Linked DNA regions of Homo sapiens: region 2 is linked to region 1. The links are contacts of gene promoters, found by promoter capture Hi-C in blood cells and fetal thymus (Javierre and others, 2016). All regions are on one chromosome and are shown on one strand. The core of a region is centred on a gene start or on the middle of the fragment in contact, and the rest is flanking DNA. Distances in the headings are between cores, read along the strand shown.

The links. The method cuts DNA at HindIII sites, captures the fragments that hold promoters and counts their contacts. A CHiCAGO score of 5 or more calls a contact.
Region 2: a contact is called between a fragment that was not itself captured here and the fragment with the promoter of ST3GAL5 in region 1, in 3 of 17 cell types (M0 macrophages, megakaryocytes and total B cells). The highest score is 8.8, in M0 macrophages.

What each region holds. Positions count from the first base shown.
Region 1 is chr2:85,887,578-85,893,884 of GRCh38, forward strand. It overlaps ST3GAL5 (ST3 beta-galactoside alpha-2,3-sialyltransferase 5), which reads right to left and starts at 1,413. Exons shown (of 7, transcript NM_003896.4): 1 at 1,247-1,413. The coding sequence starts at 1,328. It overlaps ST3GAL5-AS1 (ST3GAL5 antisense RNA 1), which reads left to right and starts at 1,703. Exons shown (of 3, transcript NR_110569.1): 1 at 1,703-2,226; 2 at 3,599-3,628; 3 at 4,114-4,675. RefSeq lists enhancers at 1-114, 125-254, 593-1,093, 785-864 and silencers at 1,035-1,154, 1,195-1,814. The HindIII fragment of the contact is 797 bases long and covers 919-1,715 here.
Region 2 is chr2:85,997,576-86,004,256 of GRCh38, forward strand. It overlaps LOC105374843 (a long non-coding RNA gene), which reads right to left and starts at 503. Exons shown (of 3, transcript XR_940318.3): 1 at 396-503; 2 at 1-66. The HindIII fragment of the contact is 8,882 bases long and covers 1-6,350 here.

The sequences.
Region 1 (6,307 bases), core at 163-2,662:
GACAGCTGGAATTCAGGTGCTTCTAGGCTCTGTTACTAGCAATGTTAGACACTCCTCGAAGCTGTCAAGCTCTCAGGATTACACAAGTGAAACCACAACCTGTCCTGACTGTATTCAAGTCTGTGCCCCTTCATGCAGCAGAAATGGATTCCTCTTCCACAGTTTCAGCAGCTGTATCCTTCCGTGGAAAAGGATTAGCAGCCATAAGCCCGGGGGAGGGCAGCTAAACACCAGAGGGCAGGAGATGAGTCTCCTTCCTCTCTGTGACACCCAGCACGGCCCTGCCACGAGGAGCAGGCAACCACTGGTGCCAGATGAAGCGCAGCACATAAAACCATTTTCCCCTTCAAATGAACGATGCCTAATTAAGCAAAAGCCGCATGCATGACTTAAGACATGAGGATATAAAATTCGTCTTCCGAGTCAGCTAGAGATTCTGCAGGATCCTCTACCCTCGTAAACGTATTTTTTTATGATTAGAAAAACCCGGGGCCTGGAAGGGACCTCGGCCATCGGCAGGGTAAGCTTCTCAGGAGAGACCATGAGCCCGAGCCCCACAGGGGGATCAGTGTCTGCCAAGGTCACCAAGCGGGTGTGAGGCAAGGGCAGGGCTCCTCGGGGATGCTCTCGGAAAACCCTGCGTTACTTACACACGCAAGGCGTACAATGAATGCACACCCGCGTCAAGCCACGGCTTACAATTCAGAAGAAATCAAAAGGTCGCCAAAACCTGTCTTCTCCGCAAGGCTGGCTGCAGAGAGGGTGCAGGGAAGGTCACCGGCAAATTTCTACCAGCGGCCCCACATCACGCCTCCCCGATGGATGCAGAGAGAGGTTTCAGGAGCTGCTAGTAACCTTGCAGGGGGTTCCCTAAGCCCATCCCAGGAAAACGAGTTAACTCGGCTCTGCTAACTCCGAAGCTTCCAGCAATGAATTAAATCCCGAGCTGCAGCGGAAAGCGGCGGGGAAAGGGCCACTGCGGCGGGACCCGACACCCGGCGGTCCGCCCCACCCTCTACCGCGTACACACCTGCGTGGGACCCCCCGCCCGGTCCACACGGCCCGGGACCACGACCCTCCGCCCGCGCCCCAGCCGGGCTCGCCTGAGGGTGTCGTGCCCTGGGCGCTGCCCGCGGGGTTCGAGGCGGAAACGCCGCGCCCAGCCGGCCCGGGAAGAGACAAGTCGCCGCCGCAGCCCCCAGCCCGCGGGCCCCCGCGACGCCGAGGAGGGGGCTGCGCCACGTACCTCGGCCGGCAGGTGCCGCCGCTGCCTCGGTCCGCGGCTGCAGGGGACGCCGCTCCGCGCAGCCCGCCGCCTTCGTCCGCATACTAATGAGGGGGCGCCGGCCGGCCGCCAGCCCGGTACCCCGCGCCCCCACCCGCCCCCAGCGCCGCTCTCGCGCCCATTCAGCTGGGGGCCGCCGCTCCCCCGCTCAGATGCGGAGGAGGGGCGCGTGGGCGGGGTCTGACGTCACGAGGACGCGGACGGCCAATCGGAGAGCACGATGCCTCCGCGGCGGCCCCCGCCCCCGGGCGCGCGGCCAGTCAGCCCTGCGGTGCGGTGGGCATTGCCAGAGCAGGGCGCCCCCTGCAGGGACGCACCCGGGGCGGGGGCCAGGCTGGGGCGAGCCCCCCTTGGTTCTGGAGAGGAAATGACATACAGTTTGTGAAAGCATAAATATTCGTGAAAATAAGAAAATTCAGGAAGGAAACAAAGCTTAAGGCAGTGATTGATAGGTTATTTCTTGGACACAGCTGAACGTATACTGTGCGCCTGCAACTTTCCGGTGGTTTCGGACCGGACTTCAGTGAAGCCAGTGAAGTCGGTCGACTTGCAGAACTTCCTTTCAGAGGGGCGTACACAGCACCGCGGCCGTGTGCCTGTGATCTCCTTCTGAGTTTGAAAAAGAAGATCCTAGACACCGAGCCAAATATGTTTGCATAAACCGGGAGACTTGTGGCTCTATTTTGTAACAGCTTGGCGCAGGGCAGCTGGTTTGGAGATGTCTCTGTTCTTCCCTTGGTGGGGGTGCCGGAAAAAATGTGCTGCCTGGGCGATCGAGGTTGGGGCAAAAGCGTTGCAAAGGAAAAGGTGGGAGGACTCTACTTTCACATTTCCCAAAAGAGTTTTACCATAAGACTATTTCTGGATTGTTCTAACGTGAGGATATTGGGAGCATTTTGAAAATACTGGAGGAAAAGCTGTCACTGGGCGATTTAAATCCGGTAAGTTGGCCAAGGCAGAGCAGCTGCTGGGGTCAGCGACAGCTGACCCTTGCAGCTGAGTATCTTGCCCTCTTAATCTTGGAGATCAGCCCAAGGCCCATGTGTTACAGGAAAGGGGTCCCGATCTAGACCCCAAGAGAGGGTTCTTCGATCTCACGCAAGAAACAATTCAGAGTAAGTCCACAGTGCAAAGTAAAAGCAAGTTTATTAAGAAAGTAAAGTGGTGGCTGGGCACAGTGGCTCACGCGTAATCCCAGCACTTTGGGAGGCTGAGACGGACAGATCACCTGATGTCAGGAGTTCAAGACCAGCTGGCCAACATGGCAAAACCCCGTCTCTACTAGAAATACAAATATTGGCCGGGCGTGGTGGCGCAAGCCTGTTGTCTCAGCTACTCACGGGGCTGAGGCAGGAGAATCGCTTGAACCCGGGAGGCAGAGGCTACAGTGAGCCGAGATCGCCACTGCACTCCAGCAGGGCATTCCTGAAAATAAGAGGAGGGACATATCCAACTAAGGTACAATGCTTGTAATGCTTGTATATATGGGCAGATGTCTTCTGCTACAAGGGTTTGTGATAAAGGATTAATTTTCCCTAATTACTATATTTTGCAATAATCAATATTATTATTTTTAAAGCAAAATTAGGAATGCCTTTGTTCTCCAGATATCGGGATATCTGGACTCTCTCAAGTCTGGGTCTGTTTAGTAAGCATTATTAATTTGTTCTCTTAACCATAAACACCTAGAGGCTAGGAATGCCTAGCTTTCAGGAAATGCAGCCTAGCAAGTCCCAGCCTCATTTTTCTAGCCCTCACTCAAAATGGAGGCGCTCTGGTTTGAACACTTCTGACACATGTGCTTGATGCAACACTCTTTACCTCTCTTTGTCTCCCCTGTCCTTCCCCTTCTCTTCCAGATTCCCCTTGTCGGCAAAGCCAGGCGCTGATAGCGTTATGGCTGCCATGAGAGTCAGCAGTATCCCAGCTTCCAAGGATGGGTGTAAGGTGGGGGTGAGGAAGAAAAGGAACTTGAAGCTGCCTCCTGTCCCAGAATCACAAGACATCTGTTAAGCCCTTACTACCTCATTCACTCCACTCACATTAGGTTGACCCACTTGGGCAGCAAGACAAGCAGGCCTGCAAACTTCCTTTTCTTCATCAGCCACAGAGACATCCTCAGCTATTATTCTGGATTAAGGCAGAGATCTCCAAACAGCAGACTAAGATCAGCCTCTAGATCTCAAAGCCTTACTGTTATCTCTCCAAGTCAGTGGCTGATCTCAGAGAAGCTTCTGAATAGTGACTAGCAAAGAGTCACTCAGGCTACTTACAAATCCAGGACAGCAGCGTTTTTTTTTTTTTCTTTTTTAGAGACAGATTCACTCTGTCATCCAAGCTGGAGTGCAGTGGCACGATCTTGGCTCACTGCAACCTCCACCTCCTGGGCTCAAGCAATCCTCCTACCTCAGCCTCCCAAGTAGCTGGAACTACAGGTACCCAACACCATGCCAGGCTAATTTCTAATTTTTTGTAGAGACAGCAGTCTCCCTCTGTTGCCCAGGCTGGCCTCAAACTCCTAGGCTCAAGTGTTCCTCCTGCCTGGGCCTCCCAAAGTGCTGGGATCACAGATGTGAGCCACTGCATGCAGCCAAAACCAGTTATTTTTTGGCTGGGCATGGTGGCTCGCACCTGTGATCCCAGCACTTTGGGAAGCCGAGGTGGGCAGATTACTTGAGGTCAGGAGTTTGAGACCAGCCTGGACAACATGGTGAAACCCTGTCTCTGCTAAAAGTACAAAAAATTAGCTGGGCATGGTGGCATGTGCCTGTAATCCCAGCTACTCAGGAGGCTGAGGCAGGAAAATTGCTTGAACCCAGGAGGCAGAGGTTGCAGTGAGCCGAGATCACGCTAGTGCACTCTAGCCTGGGTGACAGAGCGAAACTCTGTCTAAAAAAAAGAAGTTATTTTTTATCAATATATATTAACATGCAATGGATTTATTATTATTATTATTTTATTTATTTATTTTTTACTTGAGACAGAGTCTTGCTCTGCCACCCAGGCTGGAGTGCAATGGTACAATCATGGCTCACTGCAACCTCCACCTCCCAGGTTCAGGTGATTCTCCTGCCTTAGCCTCCAGAAGTAGCTGGGATTACAGGCACGTACCACCATGCCCAGCTAATATTTGTATTTTTAGTACAGATGGGGTTTCACCATGTTGGCCAGGCTGGTCAAGAACTCCGGACCTCAGGTGATCCACCCTCCTCAGCCTCCCAAAGTGCTGGGATTATAGGTGTGAACCACAATGCCCAGCCAGATTTATTATTTTAATGACTTAATAAATATTTTAAAATTTAAATATTTAAATTAAATTAAATATTTAAAAATTTCTCAGTTTTAATTTTTAATTTGGCAAATATCAAGAGAAAGACCATGTCAAAAAGATTCTTTGGGATCCTCAGTAATTTCTAGGTGTGTAAATTGATCCTGAGACCAGAGTTTGAGACTTACTGGTCTCAGCCACCCAGATAGCCCCATTGCCCCATCCTCCTTGCCACTAGGAATGGTTCATGGGTAGCCACAGGAACCACACTGATCCAATCAGAGGAAGTCTCAGGAATTTATTGGATGCTGGGGGAGAGATGCTTTCATGTTCTGCTAGACAAGAACTAGGCAGTAAGTAGCCTCAGAAGCTGTTGGTAAGACAGACATCTTGGACTACAAGAAGAGCTTATTTTAGGAAGAAAGTAATGCTGTGGGAAGCAGAAGACCACGGTTAGAAAGAAACCATTTCCTTTATGACATTTTTGAGTCACTAAATCAAACCAGTCCTGAAGTCCATCTTGCCTCCGTACATTTCACCTGTATGAGATAGTAAGTTCCTCTGTGGTTTCAACTAGCCAACCCCAGATGCCCCAACTGATTCGCTATGTACCTACTTATGCAACACAAGTTGCAATGATGAAATGAGGCTGGAAGGCAGAGAAGGGTCCAGGAGGAAAGTACCTAGCTCAGGCAAATGGGATCTTCAGCGGCATATGATCGTAAGCAGCAAGATTATAGCAGATTTTTACTTCTTATTTTTATTTTTGCTTTTCTGTATTTCCCATATTGGTCAACATGCATATGTATTGCTTTTACACTGAGGAAAAATTAGAACCTATATTATTACTTTTTTTGATAGTGCAATGACTGGCAGCGCAATATTAGAGAACAGGTTGGGGAATGGGATATGGCAATAGAACTCTTAGGCTAGAACTGCTAGCAGGGAAGAAAGAAGATTTGCAAGGGATGCAGATGGGCCCCAAAACCAAACTTACTTTCATTTACAGCTTTGCCAAGAGCCAACCTCAGAGATTCCAGGGGATGAACAAGAATCCCCAAAGGTTAAGAAATCATTAATTATGCCTCAGTCTAATTGGCTGGAATATTTGCAGGGAGAAAAATGTGGCCAACGTGAAGATCATATGTCAATACTGGAAAAGACTTAGGATATAATATTAAGTGAAAAAAATTAAAAAGGCAACACATCGTATGCAAACATCTATCATGTGGCCAAAAACTGGAAGAGAACTTGGAAAAAGAAAATAGTTGTGTTAGGGTGGTGGGATCACAAGTAATCTTTCTTCCTTTTTAACAAATCTGTTTTAATGTTGTTATAATGTTGTTTTTTGCAATAAGTAAAAATGTAGGGAGTCATTGGTTCAAATTACTGAGGTCTCAAAGAGGTCTCTCCAAACGGCCTGTTTCTTTTTGCCTGCCAAATGGCCCTCATCCCATGCCATGACAGAAGCTGTGCCTTCCCTGAGGGCCCAGTGTCTTTGAAACTGTTAGGGGTGATGCTGATGTGACTGATTTGTAGGTGGCCAGAAGGAAAGGCGGGAAGAAAGATGTTGGTGGCAGCCAAGACCGAGGAAGTCTGTGAGGCAGGAGGGGTGAGGGGTCCCTTGCCCTGTGACATAACCTTGTCGTGTTGGAGTTTCAGGCCCAGGTTACTTACTGAAGCATTGTCTTTTTATGTTGGACTTCTGTCTGGTCCCCCTGAGACGTTGTCTCTTCCGCAGGCCCTCGGGGGCT
Region 2 (6,681 bases), core at 660-3,159, 110 kb after region 1:
ACCAGGAGTATGCCAGGTCTTTGGAAGCAGTAAAACCTATAGAGATTGGAAGGCCCCGACCCAACCCTACCCAAAGTAGGGGTGTCAGCAACTAGAAAGAAGAAGGGCTCAGGATTACAGCACCTCCTCCCTTCAGCTGTCTGTCACCCAGGTGTCCCCATAACGACTCCCTCCACAGATACCCAGATGGCCAACAAGGGCAGCTCCCTTGAAACAAATGTCCCCCGAACTCCTCAGCCCCAGGAGGGAGGGGCCGTTGGGATGGGCAGCCCAGAGAGCCTGGGCTTTGCACCCAGAGCTAAGCGAGCTCAAATCCCAACTGGGCCACCTGGGACAGGTTATGCAGCCTCCCTATCACCCTCTGTAGAAGGAGAATCACAAAAAATTCTACCCACCTTATAGGGTTGCTGTAAGGATTTTGCAAGATATTGGATAGAAAGTTTCACACAACACTGGGCACAGAGAACACAGAGTGAACAGATGGTGTTGCTGTTCTCATCTATGACGACCTTTTACCCTTAGAACTCTGGGCACCAAGTTAGGGGTGGGGTGCCGGGTGGGGAGGAGTGCCAGGGAGCCAAGGGGAGGCCCTTAAGTGACGCTCAGAGAGGTCCTGACCTTCCCCAAAGCAGGAGTCCTTGGCCCAAGGGAGAATGAGTTTCGGACAGCCATGTGGCCCCCAGTAAGGGGCCCCCTAACATTCCATTTGGGCTTTAACAGGGGGTGGCCTGGAATGTCCAAGAAAAACAATCTGGTTATTCTGAGTGAAATTACAGCCTGGCTAAGGCAGGCTGGGTCTGCTTTAAATTAAACATAGCATTTCTGAGATTCTTTTCATCTCCTTGCCACTGCGGGTTAGCGGAGACATTACCTCACCTCACCTTCCACTCTGAGGTGGGAGGCCGACAGGGTGTGGGCCTGGGGGTGGGGACGAGAGAGGGAGGCCGGAGAGCCCACCAAGGGGGGCCAGGGGTCCCTCCTCACTCCAAGAGCTCAGGCTCTCACTGGGGCTGGGAGCAGTGGCTGTGTGGGGAAGAGGCGCACCCATGCACAGCCCACTCCATCCTTGGCATTTAGCAAAGGAATGACAGCACTTTCAAATACACTGCTTTCCTAGGAGCCCTTGGGGAAACTGGGTTGCGGTTTCACAGGTCCAAGGTCAGTCCCTTTCTTGCTCCCTGTCCCACACTTAGGTGCTGGGTGGCCGCGCCTGCGAGCTCCTCAGAACTCCAGGGTGTTTTCGCTCAAAAACAGATGGAGACACCAGTTTCCTCACTGAGTGGTTTTGGTTGGGGGTGGAGTTCCCTCCTGGCTTTGGAAGTTGCTTTTGGCCAGCTTTGCCTGCCTGTGGAGTCCTAGAAAATTCCACAGTGCTGCAGTCGGGTAGACCCGAGTGTGAGTCCCGCCTCCCAGGATAAGGTTCACCTTATCTTACTCAGATCCTGAATCCCCTCTTCTTTAACATGGGGAAGGAGACAGGGTTATGGGTTAGATGAAATTAAGCATGTTTGAGGTTCTTGTTTTAGATGAAGTACACCCAAAATTCTTTGGTTATAAGTTTCTATGAAACTTGAGGAAGTTTCTATTTCTTATAACCAAAGAATGTTGGGTATACTTGAAACTTGAAACTTTGGGTATACTAGAAACTTGAGGAAGTTTCTATTTCTGCCTTGTGTAAAACGGAAATTTTTTTTTTTTTCTGAAATCAGGGTACTCTCATGGAAACAGGCTGCAAAACCTCTCAGAGAATTGGAATCAGGAATTAGGAAAGGGATTTGCAGTTTCTCTCCCTCTGTCTCTGCCTGTTCTCGGGTATTTGCTTCCCTCAGGGCCTCAGTGGTAGGCTCCTGTCTGTACAAACCATTTACTCAGAGCCCCAGCCTTGGCCTGACATCATTTCCTCACGCTGGGTCCATGGTTAGAGCTCAGTGAAAGACAGCAGGTTTCTGTTGTGCTGCTTGGTTTTGCACATCAATATTAGCATGCTGAAGATTTCGTTTGTCCCTCCAGACCCACTCGCTCTCCTTTCTTCTCCACCTTGCCCTGATCCTGGGACTGGCCTGTAGGAACCACGTCAACTGAGCTCCCGCACCTTCTGGGTTCTGGTTGAGTTCAGCCCATCGTGGCCAGCAGCAGGGAATAGGAGGGCAGGAGGAAAGAGCCATCCTGGCACTTACTGTTCTCCCTCTTTGCCATGGGGGGTGGCTTGGTGGTGAAGTGTCTGGTTCCTCTACTGAAGGCCATGGCACACTTTCCAGCAAGCCCCTCCTTTGGCTATAGCTCTGTCTGCGTTCTTTTGTTGTTATTGGTTTTTTTGCTTGTTTGTTTTTTGTTTTTTGTTTTTTTTTTTTGAGACGAAGTCTCACTCTGTTGCCCAGGCTGGAATGCAATGGCACTATCTCAGTTCAGTGCAACCTCCGCCTCCCAGGTTCAAGTGATTATCCTGCCTCTGCCTCCCGAGTAGCTGGGATTACAGGCGTGTGCCACCACATCCAGCTAATTTTTGTATTTTTAGTAGAGATGGGATTTCGCCATGTTGACCAGGCTGGTCTTAAACTCCTGACTTCAACCCACCCACCTCGGCCTCCCAAAGTGCTATCTCTCTGCATTCTTGATGCCACGTTCCCGCCTTGGTCCTTCACGCTTAGGGTGGTGATGGCTCCCCACTGTTACTATCCCAGAGGTGCTGCACCATCCTTGTTCATTTTTTTCCATCTTGCCCATGTCTGCTCACTGTATTCTCTCCAGTGACTGAGCTGTAACTTTGAATTGCCATCTCTCTCCTGCTGGGACTCTGACTGATGCAATAAGATCAAGGGGAAGTCAGCTTTGTCTCTTTGCCCCACCTCCCACTCCGGCTCCCATAGGAAGTGGATGAAGAGCTCTAGGTTTGAGATAAACATTAGCAATAAGATAGAACTGAGCAGATACCCGTTATTCTGCTAGAGTGAAAAAGAATGCACGTGCACTGGGTGGAGTTACTTCTTTTGTAAAAAACTTCATTTTCCCGGGAGAATGTGACCACTGGGAAGAGGCAGAAATACGCTATCAATTTGGTCAGGGCTCTCTCTTTTTCTGGGCACACAGATGCCTAAAATTTCAGCATCATACAGGGTGTGGACAGAAAATATTTTTAAATTGTCAACTTCTAGGTATTTTTCACTCTCAAATTCATAGGATTAGTCACCGGAATCCCTGTCTTTTCCTTTCCTTTGGCAGTTTGGCTCATGGATATCTTGCTTTTGGCTTTGACTACTACAATAGCCTGTGACCCTGTCTCTGGTCTCTTTTTCCCTGTCTGTTCCACAGCCCTCTGTCAAGTTTGTCTTGGTTTGACCCAGGTCTATACATGTCAAGACCCAGATCAAAGCATTTTATGGCTTCCTGCTGAAGTGTCTGAACACTTCAGCCTGACATTCAAGGCTTCTGCAGCAGTCCTCAACTTTCTGGTCTACCTCCTATTTCAGGAACTTCCCACACCTGACAAATCAGATCTTCCTCACTGACCTTCCAACCCCTGCTCCCACTCTCTCCATCTGTTCTTCAACATGCCGTCCAAATCCCACATCCCAGCTAAGGCCTTCCCTGCCCACTCAGATGGAGGTGACTCCTCACGGTTAACCCCTGCCATTCTGAAGTGGGAGTGCTCAGAGATTAAGGAGGAAGAGCTGATGGAAAGAGAACCATATTCATACACCAGTTGCAGCCTCTGCACTGTCCTGTTTGGATATCATTCAGGGACACACAGAGGACCCTCTGTGCACCTCACTGCACAGATGCATAGCCAACTTCATCCCAAAGGAGCTAAGGGGAGACCCTGTGGCTCCAGGCAGTGTCACCTTCTCTTCAGGCCTCTCCATTACCTGGTTTTGTCCTCTGGCTTCATCATGTGATGGTGCCGGTCACTCTCTCTTGACAGAAAAATCTGGGGCCCCAGGTTGTGTCATCTGAGTGCTTGGATCAAAGGGTAAGACAGGGGACCTTAAGCAAGTATCAGGAAGAACTTCACCCAGGAGGTGCCTTCACAGCACAATCTGCCTATCTTCAGATGGGGAGTCCTGACCTGGCCTTGTGAATGCTGTGGGACCCCAGGCCTCCTTTTGCCCATATAGAAAGTCCAAGTCTTTGCTGCTTTTGAGGTTAAGCATCAGTTGGTTTCAACTATCTTTGGCTACACACACACACACACACACACACATACACACACAGAGCTTTGAGGATTCATAATACTTTTGCTCATTCAATCTTGAGTTGCAATTGCTTTGACCATAGCAACAGAGTCCTCCATAACAAAGGCCTTTACAACATTTTAACAGTGAATATAATGCAATTAATTTTTTGCAGCAATTAATTACACATGCGTTAAGAAACCATAAACTTGTAGATTTCTGTCTCTCCCTGGGAAAATTCTAGAATGGTTCATTAAACATTAGGTTGTGACTACATAGAATATAAATTAGAAATAAGAAGAATTTAAATTGGAATATTTTTAAGTTAAAAGAAAAAATACAAATCATTGGAAGCCAATATATTTTCTAAGAATATATCATGTCAAATTAATCTCATTTTCTTTTCTCGCAGAGTCAACAAGCTGATCTGTTAGAGATTTACTATAGATATAGATTTGAAGAATTTTAGGTGAAATGCATTGGTTTCCACAAAGCACATAGGAATCCTCTCATAAAAGCTGTGATAGTCATTACAGTGGTGCATAGATAATCAGTTTTTCCTCCTCTCATCCCCATAGTAAGGTTGTATTTTCTTGCCTTCTTTGAAGTTAGATGCTATCATGTAATCTGCTTTGGCCAATGAAATGTGAGTGGAAGGACACCCCATGATGAATGAATCAAGGTACCAGGTAATTCTTGGATGAACACTCACAGACAATAAATGAAGCCACGCCTGGGCAGCATTATCAGTCCCTCCAAAGGGCAGGCTAAAGAGAGAAGAACCTTTCAAAGTAAATAATGGCAATGACTTTGGAAACAAAGAGGTGTTAATCAGAAGAAAGTGCTTGAAGTGACACAAGTCAGCCTTCTGGGTGAGACGTGGGGCCCAAGCATAGACACATCAGAATCAGGGTGGTCAGAGCCAGGAGGCATGACACCACGGTCTGTCTGGTGGCTGGCTCTGTGACCTTGGCCAGTTCATACCTTTGAGCCTCTGCCTCCTTCCCATATGTGACTGGGGGCTCGATGAGGGGTAAGTACATTTAGAGAGAAAAGCTGCCAATAACTTTTCCATCTCTGTGGATATTGAGAGTCACCTTGGATTAGATCTTGGTTGTCTTCTCCCCCTGAACCTTACTGGCCACTCTGAATTGTGCAAAAACAAAAAAAGGGGCCCCTATTGCCACAGGGCCAATGTATAGTAGGAGCCTTGGCAGCCAAGCAAGATCTGTTTCACCCAGCACCCTCTGTATGCAGAGATGGCTGCCTGGGGGACAAGGAAGTTCCTGGGGAGGCAGAATTAAGACCCCCAACTGCTTCCCCTCTGAATATCACTGTCATTAGGACCTCCCTTGTGGATTGGAAGAGACCCTACTCAGGACATCATTATCGTGAAAGAAAAGGAGGGCAACAAGGCCTAGAGGATTGTGGGGAAAGGCTGCTCCTGGCCAAGTACAAGAACAAGTATAATAATGCCCTGGACACTCAGACACACACAACTTCTGCTGAGGCTGAGCATAGAAGGGTGAACTTGGAGTTCCTGCTCAGGAGGCTCCTGGGGAATCAGGCCAATGAGGTCATCACTGTAGAAGGGACAAAGCTGCAACATATGGGGCAGGACTAGTTTTTAACCAAGACACAGCATGGTGGCAACAGAAGCAACAAGAACAATCCCAAATCCCAGCCTCTTCTCTAGGCCTGGTGGCTGGGGCAGACTGGGCTCTTTGGATGGTCAGCCTCTAGGGGTCCTTGGGCAATGGTGTTGGCAATGGGGTGGGGAAAAGTGAGAGGAAAGCCTCAAAAAAAAGATGCCAGGCCTGGTGCTGTGTCTCACGCCTGTAATTCCAGCACTTTGGGAGGCCAAGGTGGGCAGATCACTTGAGGTCAGGAATCTGAGACCAGCCTGCCAATATGGTGAAACCCCGTCTCTACTAAAAATAGAAAAATTAGCCAGGCATGGTGGTGCACACCAAAATCCCAGCTACTAGGGAGGCTGAGGCAGGCCAATTGCTTGAACCTGGGAGGCGGAGGTTGCAATGAGCCAAGATCGTGCCACTGCCCTCCAGCCTGGGCACAGAGCGAGACTCCATCTCAAAAAAGAGATGCCAGACCTCCCTGCTAATATACGCAAATGGGTGCTCAGGCAACTAATAGGGAAAAAGCAACAGATACTTTGATTTAAGCTTGCAAAATGAGTCAAAGCTATTACGTGAATATGTGTTTCCAAAGACCAGCCCACGTTCAACCTGTGGGATTGAGATAATAGACAAGAAAGTGTATTTGAAAAGAAGAGTTACACAGGCATGAGGGTGGCAGGAACTACCACCGATTCTCCCTTCCTTCTTTGTATTAATAGATTTAGTCTTGAGATTAAGCTGGGCTTATGGCTGCCCAAGTAAAGACTTCATTTCCCAGCCTCGCTTGCAGCAAGGTGTGATCATGTGGCTAAGTCTGAGCCAATGGGATGTGAGCAGCAGTGATGTGTGCAACTTACAGATCACACTATTATCAG